Linked DNA regions of Homo sapiens: region 2 is linked to region 1. Evidence: promoter capture Hi-C in 16 types of primary human blood cells and fetal thymus (Javierre and others, 2016). All regions are on one chromosome and are shown on one strand. Each heading gives the region's core, a stretch centred on a gene start or on the middle of the fragment in contact. The rest is flanking DNA. Distances are from core to core; before and after follow the strand shown.

Region 1 (7,631 bases), core at 3,369-5,868:
TTTTAATGTTGCAGCTTGGGGAGTTAAAAAAAGGTTCTAATAGTTTATTTGCTCAGTTAGCTGAAATATGGATTAAAAGATAGCTCACTGAGAGCAAGCTGGAAATGCCTGATCTCCCTTGGTTTAATGTAGAGGAGGGACTCCAAAGGCTTAGGGATATTGGGATGGTGGAGTGGCTTAATTACTTTAGACCTACTCATTCCAGCTGGGAGGGTCCAGAAGATATACCCTTGACCAATGCATTGTGAAATAGATGCGTGAGGGCAGCACTTGCATGTTTGAAGAGCCCTGTAATTGCTCTTTTCTGTATGTCAGATCTAATGGTGGGAACCACAGTCATTCAACTACAAAATTTAAATACAACGGGCATAATTGGATCCCAGGGAGGCAGGGGCCAAGTGGCAACACTCAACTGTCAAAGGCAAGGTGGGCGTAGCTACCATAATGGACAGCAGAGGCAAAGCGGCAATCGGAATAGTCTGACTTGTGTAGAGCTCTGGCATTGGCTAATTAATCACAGTGTTCGTAGAAGTGAAATTGATAGGAAGCCTACTGCATTCCTTCTTAATTTCTATAAGGAGAAAAATTCTAGGTTGAATGGACCAAAGACTAATTTGAATTATAAAAACAGAGAATCATGGCCTCTCAATCAATTTCCAGATTTGAGCCAGTTTTACAAACCCAGAACCCCTTGAATGAAGGGGAGGCTGGGTCCCCTTGAGGAAGGACCCCACTACATCACTGACAATTTAGGCAGTGAATTTTTTCCCCGCCCTTCCCCAAGGAGACCTCCAGCCTTTCACCAGGGTAACTGTGCATTGGGAAAGGGAAATAGGAGACCTCCAGCCTTTTACCAGGGTAACTGTGCACTGGGAAAGGGAAATGATCAGACATTTTGGGGATTACTGGACCCTGACTCTGAGCTGATGTTGATTGCAGCGGACCCAAAATGTCATTGTGGTCCTCCAGTTAAAGTAGGGGCTTATGGAGGTCAGGTAATTAATGGAGCTCTAGCTCAGGTCTGACTTACAGTGGGTCCCCAGACTCATCCTGTGGTCATTTCTCCAGTGCCAGAGTGCATCATTGGCATAGACATACTTAGCACCTGGCAGAACACCCACATTGGCTCCCTAACTGGTAGGGTGAGGGCTATCATGGTGGGAAAGGCCAAATGGAAGCCATTAGAGCTGCCTCTACCTAGAAAAATAGTAAATCAAAAACAATATTGCATACCTGGAGGAACTGAGGAGATTAGTGCCACCATCAAGGAATTGAAAGATGCAGGGGAGGTGATTCCGATTCCCACCACATTCCCATTAAACTCTCCCATTTGGCCTGTGCGGAAGACAGATGGATGTTGGAGAATGACAGTGGATTATTGTGAGCTTAACCAAGTGGTGACTCCAACTGCAGCTACAGTACCAGATGTGGTTTCATTGCTTGAGCAAATTAACACATCTCCTGGTACCTGGTATGCAGACATTGACTTGGCAAATGCCGTTTTCTCCATTCCTGTCCATAAGGCCCACCAGAAGCAATTTGCCTTCAGCTGGCAAGGCCAGCAATATACCTTTACTGTCCTACCTCAGGAGTATATCAACTCTCTAGGTTTGTGTCATAATCTTATTCTTGTGATGGTTAATACTGAGTATCAACTTGATTGGATTGAAGTGAAGAGGTGAGACTGGCCTAGCCTCCCAGCCTACATCTTTCTCCCATGCTGGATGTTTCCTGCCCTTGAACATCGGACTCCAAAGTTCTTCAGTTTTGAGACTTGGACTGGGTCACCTTGTTGCTCAAACTTGCAGACAGCCTGTTGTGGGATCTTGTGATTGTGTAAGTTAATACTTAATAAACTCCTATATATATGTAGGAGTTTATTAAGTATTATATATATATTTACATATATCTCTATATTTATATGTGTGTATATATATGTATATATCTCCTGTTAGTTCTGTCCCTCTAGAGAACCTTAATACAAGTTTATATTACCAATATTACCAATATTTTGGGGGAGATGTAGCAATGGATTTTTCAATTGTGACTTTTAAAATTCTGGTTTTAAAAATGTTTAAGAAAATCAACTATATTAAATATGTGATTGTATTTTGAAATGTTTAATAGGGTTTGTTGGTGTTAAATAAGGAAACTTCACTTGTTTAATTTATTAGCTAAGTTGTAAAGAAAATAAGTGCCTTGAGTTTCAAGGCTTAAAACAGCTTGTAACAGTTACAGTTTTAAAAACTTTGGATTACTTTAAACATTAGTTACTAAGTACCCATTTCTACACAGAAAACCCTTCCTTATATACTAAATAAATTAGCAAGTGTTACTGAGGGAATGCCCACATGAACACTTCAAGTTGCCTCTAAACTAATTAGCAAGAGGCAGGGCAAGCAGCATTTAGTTGGGGCAGTTAGAAAAGTAGTCAAAGATATGCAATGAACAAAGAACAAAAGCAAAGAGTGACTTAGCTATACGTAACCTGTTTATTTATGATAAAAGCACTGTGTTGAGGAACTAGATCCCTGAAGTTAGATGCTCCACAAAGATGAGGATTTTGTTTATTTTACCCACTGTGGTGGCTCCGCTGTGTTTCCACTGCCTGGTCCACAGTGTGCGTTCACATCATTTTTGTTGAATGAATAAAGGTGGGTTTCAAAGGACCACTTGCTTCAGAACTACCCAGAGTCCCTTAAAACGCAGATTTACAGGATCCTCCTGGGGGACTGCGTCCCCAGGGGTTTGGGAACCTGCATTTTTTTTACAGCCTCTCCTTCACATGGTACACAGTGTGAGAACCACTGAAGTTCAACCTCTTCACCTTGCTAGAGAGAAGACTAAGTGTTTTGCTCAGGGCCCCATGGCTAATGACAGCTGAAAGTAGACCCCAAACTGTCAGGCTTGAAAACTTCATTGCTTTGTTTATTTCCTCTAGCTTTCAACGTAGAGGAAGAGGGAAATAATTCAGCTTCCAGGTTTTGCTGTCTTTTGCTCCGGATAGATGGTTGATTAAAAAGTCCATTTGTCATGGTTTCAGTATCACTTATTCTCCAGCATTATTTCATACTGCATTTCCCCATCGTTTTTCGGACTAGTCCCTATTTTTTTATTTTCCAATTAAAATTAATTTTTGAACTGCCTGTCAATGTCTGTGAACTTCTAATGTTTTCTTATTTCACTTCAGTAGAGCTGTGAGAAAGCGTTTATTCCACCTAAGTAGGGCCTTCAGACCCTTAACCTGTTTTTCTAGGAAGACTCTTGTGGGTCTCCCTTGGTGGAAGCCATTCTCTTACACTGCTGTGTTTGCTTAGGAAATACCAGATTCCTATGCGTGCTTAACAGTGAAACGATTGGAAGAAGCAGTCTTCACCTGTGTAACAACTTCCTCAAAAGAGCTTCATCCAAAGGCACGATTTCACAGGGCTCCTGCAAAGCTTGCTTTGCTTCCCAATTTCTTAGGCATGTTGGACATGCCAAGCCTAGATAAACTATTTGAAGGAGTTGAGGTCATTATTCAGGATCTGTGACCCACAAGATTTCTTTTTGTAGAGTAATGTAACGTTGGGCACCGCCTAAGGAGTAATGGAGCCTCAGTTCCCTTAGTTATTCCTGCCTTTTTCCTTTCACCTGTTTGCACTTTGCATATGAGGAGATAATTAGTAGTCAATTGATTAGCGAGCAATTTCAACATTTTTCAATATACTTAACATAAAGCAATAAAGCAGGCGGCTGAAACAACTAAAACAACAACAGTTTACAGAGCGCGGTTTGATCAGAGAGGCGCACTTTAATCAGAACGACTGGCCTTAATTTCATTTTTTAAGTTGTTAACACTAAAACTCTTTATAAGAGTTCCCTAATTTGAAGAAAAATCCAGCCGGCTGCTTTTTTGGGCGCACTGGTCAACCTTGGCGATTTCACCTGGGGAAGCACTGAAACCGGCCACTCCCCCCAGGGAGGCCAGGGGAGCTGGGCGCGTGTCCCCGGTGCCCAGCCCCAGACCTCTTCCGCCCGCCGCTCCCCCACGCGGAAGAGAACGCGGTGCTGCGCCTAGGAGAGCAGGTCGGGCCTCCAGACCTGGGGCAGGGGCGGCTGGCGTGACGGCGTGGCCAGTGTTCCTGAGCGAGCAGGGGCTCGGCAGCAGAGCGCACCCCGCACCTTTGAGCCCAAGGCGCGGAGATCTCCGCTCATCCAGGCCGCACCCCGGCCCTGCTTTTTTCCGTCCGGACCTAGGCGCCGCGGGTTCTACTGACCCCGCCAGCCAGGGGAAGCCGTGACGGACCCCGAGGCTCGGGGGGTGGAGGCGGCGGGAGACAGAGCCCAGGGAGAACCGCCGGGGCGACGCGGCAGTTACCCTACTGGGTCCTCCCGGGGACGGCGACCAGAGAGCGAGCCCGGGGTCCGGATCCGAGGCAGGCGTTGCGCAGGGAGCCCTGAGACCCGCTGAGTCCGAGGCTGGTGCCCGCCCGGCCCAGCGCGGACTTCCGAGGGTCCCGCGCGCTGGGACACGCCCTCATCCTGGGGGACGACCCCGTGGCCCCAGGCACCGCCTCCCGTTCCCGCCCCGCGCCCCGCAGCGCTTAGGCTTCGGCACACTGAGGACCGAGTCCCAGTGCAGCTCCAGCCGACCCCCGGGACGTAGACAAGGGCAGGCGCGCGGTGAAGACTGCGGCCGGCCGCGTAGCCGCGCTGTGGTCCCGCTGGCCTTCTCTTGGGCCGCGCACCCTCCGGACCTGCGTCGGGATCCTCCCGGAGTCTCCCGCTCTCTCCTCCCGGCTTGCGAACATGCGGCCCCTTAAGCCCGGCGCCCCTTTGCCCGCACTCTTCCTGCTGGCGCTGGCTTTGTCCCCGCACGGAGCCCACGGGAGGCCCCGGGGGCGCAGGGGAGCGCGCGTCACGGATAAGGAGCCCAAGCCGTTGCTTTTCCTCCCCGCGGCCGGGGCCGGCCGGACTCCCAGCGGCTCCCGGAGCGCAGGTACGATGTCCCCATCCCGCCCCATCCTTTGCCCTGCGCCTGGGGCTCCGTGGATTCCCCTAGGAGCTGGGCGAGGCACTCGCTTTGGGAAGCCTGAGATTAGTACAGCAGAAAACAGAGCATCTCTGCAGATTCCCAGCTCTCGGAAAGAGGTCGTAAGCGAATTAGATTTACCACGGTTGAGAGTTAAGTAAAGAAATCCGGCTGGCAATGGGATCAGCTTTCTATGTCCCTTCCCAGGTGTAGGAGGACTTTTTGGAAATAAACTGGTAAAGCAGCTCAAAGACATGGGTTTCAGTCCCACCGACCGAGGGGTGGTGGACAGGTTAGGTCCCTGTCAGCACCCCATTTCTGGATCTTCCGGGGTTTTGAGAATTAACTAAGATTGCTGTCCGTAGACACCTGACCGTGCCAGGAATGCCCCTTTCCCCTCCCCTTTCACGCTGGCCGCAGCGAGTGGCTGAGGAAGCGCCAGTTTCAGCAGGCGGCGGCTTATGTTACTGGCACCTTTCCTAGATCATTTTAGAAGGGCAGCCGGCTGCTCCCAAATCAACTTTGGACAGTCAGGTTCCTGCTACTTAGATGCCCGAGGGGAGTGGAAGGAATGAGGGAGGAAAAAGTCGCTGCTCTAGAGGGTCATGAGACATCCACAGGCAGAGAAGTCGTGTGAATACGGGGAACACGGAAAAGCCCCTGGAAAAGGAGGTCCGAGGGGGCGGCCGGGCACTTGGGGCAGCGCTGGAGGGAGGAGGGCAGGACACGCAGGAAAGGAAGGTGGGGACAGAAGCGAGAAGCTCCTCACACGTTTCTGTTCACACCCAGCAAGAGCAGAGCAAGGTGAAGCTGCCGGCGAGGCTGGGACAGAAGGGCCCCTCTGCGGGGACATTTGGTGGCCTCCACCGGGCTTGGGAAGAGGAGAGGGCCTAGGGTGGCCTGGGGATGCCTCGCAGCTAGCGGCTGGCCGTGGGACCACAGCTCCTGATCCCTTCTCCTCAGGCTTTATGGCTAAGAAAGCAAACAAGGGCTTCTTAGTATGATTTTTCTTTCACAATAGTTGTGATATAAATATATACTTATTCACTCCACAAACTTTCTTCGAGTTCCTGTCTGTCACCATGCAGAGGGCGGAGGCCACCCAGAGGAGCAGACAGCAGTGTCTGCACTCTCCCACACACCTGGGTGTGGAAGGAGGCGCTGGTGCACACCTGCACTAAGTGAGCAGGGTGTCCTGCCCTGGGGAGGGGATGGAGAAGGTGGGAGGCTGAGGTGGGCTGCCCAGCTGGTGTGTGGACAACCCGGGCAGAGCCTCTCAGTCCAGCCGGCCACTGGGGAGCCCTCAGGAGGGGAGGGCACAGGGTCAGTGTCCGCAGCACGGCCATGCAGCAATGGTGCACACAGATCATGCACTTTGACTTAAAATTATTGTTAGCCTAAAATATTTATCTCAGAGAATAAAATGTCACTTTGGAATGTGAAAGGACTGGGAGAAAGGCTCTCAAAGTACAGAAACATGGAGGGCACACATTCATTCAGACCTTCTGTTTCATTCAACAGATCTTTTCTCTTTGATTCAGACAGTGAAGACTTACTGAAGTGAGTTACAAGGGATAAAACAATATTTTATTTATTTATTTAGAGACGGAGTTTCGCTCCTGTCTCCCAGGCTGGAGTGCAGTGGCGTGATCTCGGCTCATTGCAACCTCCGCCTCCCGGGTTCAAGCCATTTTCCTGCCTCAGCCTCCCACGTAGCTAGGATTACAGGCGCACCACCACGCCCGGCTAATTTTAATTTTTATTTTTTTGTAGTTTTAGTAGAGATGGGATTTCACCATGTTGCGCTAGGCTGGTCTCGAACTCCTGACCTCAAGTGATCTGCCTGCCTTGGCCTCCCAAAGTGCTGGAATTACAGGCATGAGCCACTATGCCCGGCCATAGTTAAAAGCGGCAACCATCTGAAGTTTTAAACAACAATATAGTCAGACAGAAAGTGCCCTGTGGGCACCCTTAAAGCCATTGCTTTCTGTGACTGTAGTTGTCTAATTTTTTGATTGCTATACTACATTCACAAGGGGAGAAAAGGGTGGCTCATGACATCCGTATCTGAGTCTGTGAATGGAGTACTTGCACATGGATCAGGAACAAACAGGGACATGAGAATATAGAGGACAAGGGCCTATCTGGATGTTCTCACGGGGTGCACTCAGCAGGTGGCAGGGGTTATCGTTCATTCAGGAGGAAAATATCTCGCAGGTCCGGGAGGCCAAGGACTCTCATCTCTGCCAGATGTGCCTGGAATGATGGCCCCATATTTCTGTAGTGACGTAATAAGCACCATCACCCAGGCCTAACGTACCTGTTCTAGGTTCAGAAATCTTTGCTGCCCCTGCACTTGCTCTGTCTGCCTTTTTCTGTAGGCCAGGCAACTTCCCTAAATGCAGATGTGAGCTGGAGGTGGGGGGATCATTTCCAGGTAGAGGGAGTAGTAACCAGGAAACCCTGAGGCAGGAGGGACCAGACAGCATGCCCCGAGGATTGCGGAGAGTGGGGGACTGTGTTAGGTTCCCAGGAACACTCCTGATTCACCGTCCTTGGCCCTCCTTCCTTCTCACAGCCCATTTGTTCGTGCCTGTATCCGTCCTCTCATTTAGCA
Region 2 (7,631 bases), core at 1,473-3,972, 360 kb before region 1:
CTATATGATTGTACTTACATAAAATGGCAGAAAATCTAATCTAATCTATTGTGACGGAAATCATATCAGTTTTTTTCTTGGGAAAAGGGATGGGAAGGGGAGTAGGAAAAGGAGAGACGGGGAGAGGACTAGAGGGACACAGGGAAACGTGTTGCATGTTTACTACAATATCTCAACAAAGCTATTTTTTAAATAACACATGGAAAGCCAGCAGATGGGACTTAACTACTTGAGGCAAGAAGGTGAAACTGAGACCCCTGTATATGCACAAACCCCAGTGCAGAAAAAGTCCCCCAGCAGTTCAGAGCAGAAAAGGAAAATTATACCTAGCTTAGTTGAAGGAAACAAAATCTTACCCCAAAATGAATACCTGAGCCTTTTATTTCTAATGAGTCTGGAGTCCAGATCTGCATTACACATTTGTTGCAAGAATCTCCATACCTTGAAATCAGTGTAAATACTGCTCTCCACCTGAAATCACAGCCACAGTTCTGAAGTTGGTTTTGTGTCTTTTCCATCCATGCTTTTATACTTACAGTACATTTTTTAATCCAAAGTATATTTAATATTCCTTTGAGTATTTTAAACATTTACATAAATATTATCATCATCTACCTGTGCTTCTTCACCTTGCTTTTATTCAGATTTATCTATTTGGTATGTCGTTATTTAGCTTTTCTTTTTAACCCTTTATGGTATTTTTTATTTTGCAAATACCATAGCTTGTTGTTTTAAAAATATTTTTAACTCTACTCTTGGCCACTTTTATATTTAATATTCTTATTTGTACTTTACTTTTTCTTAATATATTTTGCCAGAGGTTTGAAAGGACTATTTTAAAAGACTTCTCTAAGATTGAGCTATTTGTTTTGTTGATCCTATTCTTTATTTTTTATTAAAATTTTAAAATAATTTTTTCTTTCTTTCTTGGGCTTTTACTTTGCTGCCTTTCCAAATTCTTACAATGATTGTTTCAATGGTCACTTTTTACTTATTTTTCTATCTGCCTCAAAGTACCAATTGACCTATATCTTGAAAGTCTTATATGCACTGTGGCAGTCAGATCTTTTAAAAAATTGTCATTTTCCTTATTTCTTTTTTATCCATAAGTTATTTTGAAGTTTTTTAAAAAAATTATGTCACATGTGTTTTGACTGTCAATAGTGTTAATAGCAACAGTAATGATTACTATTAGAACTACTTTTCAGTGTTGTTTGAGAATTAAAAGAAAACGAATATAAAATACAACAGCACCGAATACTTAAAAGAACTTGATAAACATTAGCTATTATGACACAAGCCCTCTCTAATCTCATCTTCTTCCATTTTTTTTTACTTTATTTATTTTGCTCTAGTCAATTTGGACTTTTGTGTCCTTCAAACATTTAGGACTTATTTCTATCTTTGCAAAGGCCTGAGGGTAGAAATAAGCTTACTCATTCTTACTCCTCTGCCTAGGATACTCTTCACTTCCATCATCACACGGAGTTTGGGTTGTTTTCTCATGTTTAATGAGGAGAGCTTTAGAGCGAGTCTGCACCACTTACTAGCTGTGCAACCTTGCATAAATCACTTAACCTTTTTATGCCTCATGTTTTCCAACTCTTAGATTACTTTGAGGATTTAATGATAGTACAGGTAAAGAGTTAAGAATACTGCCTTGATATAATAAGTATTCATTACATCTTTTCTTTGCTCTTGCTGTTACTACTATTATTATAGGAGAAAATTGAGACAGAATAAAAGTAAATCACTTGTCCATAGCACGTCATTGGGTTGATGTTATACACAGAATTGAAAAGCCTGTCTTCGCTTTCCATCAAAGCCACTATGCTATTTTTTGGGGAAAATTTGGCAAAGACTGTCTCTGTCTTGATGCTCCTTCATACTCTCAGAAGTAAAGTACTAAAACCCCAATTGTGGATTTTGACATTTTCCTGTATATGTGATATCTGGTTATGATTTTAGGATGCATATGTAAGTCATCACATTAAATGATGTTTGTGTAATAATGCTAATAGGAAAACTCAGGAAAAATACTCAATTCAAAGTCAGAAACATCTTTTGGTCAAAGTATTAAAGTTCTGTTTCATAAAATGTGCAAAGTGAAAAAATACAAGAAGGAGACATCTAGTTCACTTTGACATGTAAAAAGTTTGGGAGTCATCACTCATGTCCTCATAGCAATGGCAAAGTTGGGCTCTGAAAATCACCAACTGTTCTTAGATCCACCCAAAAATTGAGGATGGAGGGCAAGCCACCAGTCCAAAACTCTACAGAGAGAGAGATAGGTGGATACAGAGGATCACAGCTGACAGGGGGTGGAGGCACAACTAAGGCCAGCAACTGGTTGAAACACTGAAGGAATGATTGACCAATTGCTGAAGAATGAGCATGGACTAGATTGAGAGAGAAAAACTTCTGTGGGCACAGCCTTAGGAGGTCCCCACACTTTTATCACTTTTACCACCAGGAATCCCACCAGGTTCTCACTATGAAGATAAAATAAAAATTCCTTCCAGCTTCCTGCATGGGGAGGGGAAAGGCAACAATTTTGAAATACATCCAGAGCTTCTGTTCTTCTTAGCAAAGGCTTGCCCTCAATGGAAGCTACTTTACCAGCCTAACTCATGTGGAGTAAGGGAAATACCCAACTTCAGCCTCTTCTAACCTTCATCGCTAGGAGAGGGAAATACCTAACTCCAGCCTCTCCAGCCTTACTGACTCACCTAAGACGGTTAGAGGAGAAGCTAAGAAGTATTTGTTAGGGTCACCTCTCCAAATGCATAGGTTCACTAAAAAACAGAGATCTAATCAAAGGACTATAGAATGCCTCTTCTCCCTCTACATTTTACTACCATGTCATTGGAGCTGCTTCTGTATAATAGCAGGGAAATATAACTGAAAGAATTGCATGTCACAGATGCTATTTAAGGAGAGGTCACTAGGGAAACCCATAAACAACAGAGGAGACAAAAACAAGGGTGATAGAATAAATTTTAGCTTCTGACACCTATAGCTACAACAAGCAGTAAATGGAGCCTAACTCCTAGCCAGATTAAGTTTAAAACTTCATTAACGAAAGTTCCCTTCGCACAACACATCATGTTTGGATTTTAACAAAAAATTACAACAGACACCAAAAGACAAAATACAGTCTGAAGAGGCAAAGCAAGCATCAGAATTAGCTTCAGATATGGCAGAGATTTTGGAACCATCAGACTTGGAATTTAACTACAATTAATATGCTAAGGGCTCTGACTTAGTTCAGGCTGCTACAACAAATGGTTGCAGAACTTTTCCTTAGTTCAGCTAAAGATGGGATCCTTGTCTGTCCCACGGCCATGAAAATTTAGGCTTGCAGATGGTTTGAAATATGAGTAAAGCAGGGTTTTATTGGGTGGAAAGGGAAAAAAGTGGGGGAAACAGGGATCCTCTCCAAGGCCAGAGTCCCTGTTAGAGTGCTTCCCACCCGCAGCTCAAATCCCAGGTTCCAAAGAGGAAGAGGAGGAGCCAGGCTCCTCCCCACTGCAAAGGGCATGAACCTCCTGAGGCTCCACCCCAGTGCACAGGACGGTTGGAGTTTTTCTGAGGACCTCCTCCAACCTGGCTCTCTCAAAACTACTATGGTTTGGGTGGCCTAAACAACAGAAAGTTTCTTCTCACCATTTTGGAGGCTGAAAGTCTGAGATCAGGGTGCCAGCATGATTGAGTTCTAGGTGTGGACCCTATTCCTGATTTACAGATGTCCAACTTCTTGCTATTCTTACACAACAGAGAGAGAAAGTGGTAAGATCTATTTCATTCTCTTCTTACAATGGCACTGATCCCTAACCCTCATGACCAAATTACCTCCCAAAGGTCCCCACCTCCAAATATCATCACACTGGGGATTAGAGATTCCACATATAAATTTGGGACAGGAGCACATATATTCAATAGGCTCTAATGGACACAGTAGATATACAGAAGAAGAAATACCAAAGAAGATATACAGATGGCAAATAAGCTTATGGAAAATGGTCAAAGCTCTCTATCTTTAGAAAGTTGTAAGATAGGTAATAATGAGATACAGCCACATACCTAATACAAAACCCTGACAACACCAAATGTTGGTGGACAAGAACTCTCATTCATTGCTAGTGAGAATACAATGTGATACAGCCACTTTGGAAGACAATGTGGCCATTTCTTACAAATCTAAATATAGTCTTATAATGCCATCTAGTAAATGTGCTCCTAGATATTTAGACAAATCACTTAAAAATTTATGCCCACACAAGAACCTGCATGTGAATGTTTATAGCAGCTTTATGCAGAATTGCCAAAAGGTGGCAGCAACCAAGATGTTCTTCAGTAGGTGTCTGGATAAACAAACTGTGATATATTCATACAATGGAATATTATTCAGTGATAGAAAGAAGATATCATACCATGAAGAGACATGGAGGAAACTGAAGTGTATATTGCTCAGTGAAGGAATTTAGTCAGAAAAAGCTCCATCCTGTATGGTTCCAACGATATGACATTCTGGAAAGGCAAAATAAAGAAGATCAGTGATTCCCAAAGTTTGAGGGAGCAGGAGATGGGGAACAAGGAGGGATGAATAAGTAATGCACAGGAGATTTTTAGGGCAGCAAAACTATTCTGCATAGTTCTGTAACTGTGGATACTTGATGGTATGTATTTGTCAAAACCTGTACAATTGTATGACACAAAAAATTGAACCCTTGTATAAACTAGGGGCTTTAGTTATTAATAATATATCAATATTGGTTCATCAATTGTAACAAATGTAAGACATTAATTAAAGATGCTAATGGTAGGACAAACTGTGTGTGTGAAGGTAAGTGATTGCAGGGACAAGATGGGAATTCTCTGTATTTTGTGCTCAGTTTTTCTGTAAACCTAAAAATGGTCTAAAAAGTGAAAGTCTATTAAAAAGAAAAAGAAATTGGAAGCCCTTCCCAGAAATCTGTAAATGTGTTTAGTTAATGAGTTGCTATGAAGCATAGTGAACTTATATTTAGATATATTAGAAGACAGTCCATACCATTTATGTTGTCATGATTTCACTGATTTTACAATACTGGAATTGTAAGCCACAGAATGAATTCCAAGTAAAATGTTTTAAATGTATTCATCAGTCAAGAATCGTCAAAGCTAAATCCCACTAATTGCTTTATTATATGCAATTTCAGTGCCAAGCCAACATTCAGATTCAAATATAAAAGATATTTATGTGATTTTTGCAATTGTAATTAGGGTCTAATCCATTTCTTTCATAAGAGCCAAAGGAAAGAGAGGTTTGATAAGTAGCCAGTCAATCTTAAGTTAAACATTTTCCTTAAGAAATGTATCATTCTATTGATTGTTGATCTCCTATGTTCATTACAAGGTTTAAACTTAGTAGCACCTCCAACCAATAGCCTCAAGATGAAAGAACTTCTCAATTGTAAGGAAATGACCTTTTCCAGCCCCTATGAATCATTTTCTGCTTTTGCTGTTTCTGAAGGATTAGTCCCACATAGTCAGCTGTTATTTTTTCTATGTTAATAAATCATTTTCACTTAGAGAATTTAAGTTGGAGGCTAAAACAGGATTAAATAAGCCACTCTGATATCAGTTCGTCTTTATAGCTTAGAAAGATAAGATGATGAATACAAATTGGTCAAAATACCACAAAATATATCTTCATATTGGAACCCTTTGTGCCAGGAGCATCATTACGACTGAGTAATGGACAATAAAGGTACTGCCGGGCCCAAGTGACAGGGCAGAAGTGTGTGCATGATGTGGTTCTGTTTACACAGATGTTCTTCAGAAGGCATTTCACATAATAAAATAAGCTGCAACATTTATCTGAGTTCATTTTTTTCGGGACAAAGCCACTTAGAGCAGCTTGGTTATTACTGTTTAAAAATGAAATGTTTTTGATGACACTAAAAGGATGACAGCACTTTCCAATTTCTGCACATTGTACTTCTGAAGGCAGCGCTAAAGGGAAAAATGATCACAGCAACGTGGCCACTGAGTTTATTAATAAAAGCCTAGGAGAAAACGGATTCCTCTTTACCATCTTAGAAGGCAGGCCAGGAGCACAGGGAGTCATGTAACAATAGATTTAAATTCTTCAAATATAGTACCTACATGGACTACGCAACAGTCAACCACGTCATGGCAAACTGCACCTTATTAAAAGTTGGTTAATGAATAGACCGCCTAGAAGAGGCTGGATGCTTCTCTGACTGGGCTGACTCATCAGTACTTTATTCACTAGAACTAATGCTCTGATATTTCATTTGAATATTGGGTTTCTTATCATTTTTATGTCTTCTTTCATCAAGCCAGTGGTAATACTTCCAAAAGTTTATAAATGTTCCATTTAAATTCCCGTGGTGTCATGTATTCATCTTCCTCACTTCTTCCACTAATAGTTGCCTCAAGCAGTTCTAATTTCTCAGTCAGTAGTAGTTTAATAATTCATTTCCTTTAGTTCCCGATGGCCTGGTTAAAGTTCTAGCAGAATTGCCTACAAGAAAATATTACCAAAATGTTGTCTGAGATTCATCCAGCTCAGAGTGTGGAGGGAGATGCATCACAGTCAACAATCATCAAGTAACTATAATGCATAAGATAATGTGTAGAGTACCAAGAAATACAACAATAAGAAAGCAGATACTGTATATGGCAAAGGAGCTCTGAAAGATAATGGTAGACAATAAGTGAAAATGATTAAAGATAAATAACTTTCTTTATTGCATATCCTTTTAGAATCTTCAGTATGCTCATGTAAATCAGGAAACTCCAAGACAAAGAGCAGTAGACAAAATTCTTTAGACTTAATATGTCCTAAGAACACTTCTCTATGTGAATGCTTCCAAGGGACTAGTCTTCTTCAGAACACACTTTAGAAAAATTCCATCCCAGATAAAATGCTGTGATAAAGGCAAAGCAGCATTCAGGCAAAGTCTTGTGGCAGTCCATTAAAAGGAACTGTTCTTGTCAATTGGGAGAAATCAGGGAAGATGTCATTGAGGATGTGGCACTGTAGCTAGTTCCTGAAGGATATAGAAAATGAGGATAAGGACAGTTCTATTCAGACAATATATGTGCAAAAAGATGAAGACACAAAAGCATATGGTTGTCTGGGAAAAGAGAAATTTTGACATTTCTTGTCTACAAGACTAGAAGAAGGATGATACCATTTACAGATGATAGAAAAAAAGGAAAATGAAAAATTTGGCCAGAAAAAGCTGGAAGATGAAAGGAGTAGTCTGTAGAAGATAGAGGTGAAGAATTATTTTAGACTCATTATATTTGTGATGAAGACGTTCCTGGTGAAAATTTCAAGAGAAAATTGGAAATTTAATTCCAGAGATTAGAAGAGATCCCAGAAGAGACAATAAAGATTTTGAATATCTTTTCCTATAAAGAGCATCAAAAGGTATGGGAATAGATAAAGTAGCCTATTAAAGATCAACCCTTGGTGACATTAATGATATATCCCAGAAATCAGATTATTTGCTGATGGTATAAAAATCATGACCATCTTTCTAGTGGCAGAGAATAAGATTTCTGACCCTAGAATATGTAAGCATTTTAAAGAGGAAGTGACTGAGTTTACATCT

The links. The method cuts DNA at HindIII sites, captures the fragments that hold promoters and counts their contacts. A CHiCAGO score of 5 or more calls a contact.
Region 2: a fragment that was not itself captured here is called in contact with the fragment with the promoter of ALKAL1 in region 1 in 1 of 17 cell types (endothelial precursors); the score reaches 6.2 in endothelial precursors.

Annotation. Positions count from the first base shown.
Region 1 is chr8:52,562,417-52,570,047 of GRCh38, reverse strand. It overlaps ALKAL1 (ALK and LTK ligand 1), which reads left to right and starts at 4,618. Exons shown (of 5, transcript NM_207413.4): 1 at 4,618-4,981. The coding sequence starts at 4,792. RefSeq lists an enhancer at 5,386-6,362. The HindIII fragment of the contact is 9,451 bases long and covers 3,443-7,631 here.
Region 2 is chr8:52,920,973-52,928,603 of GRCh38, reverse strand. It overlaps LOC107986943 (a long non-coding RNA gene), which reads right to left. Exons shown (of 3, transcript XR_001745899.2): 2 at 4,434-4,530; 3 at 357-471. Among named protein-coding and RNA genes, the nearest start is that of NPBWR1, 14 kb to the left of the region's middle. The HindIII fragment of the contact is 2,578 bases long and covers 1,434-4,011 here.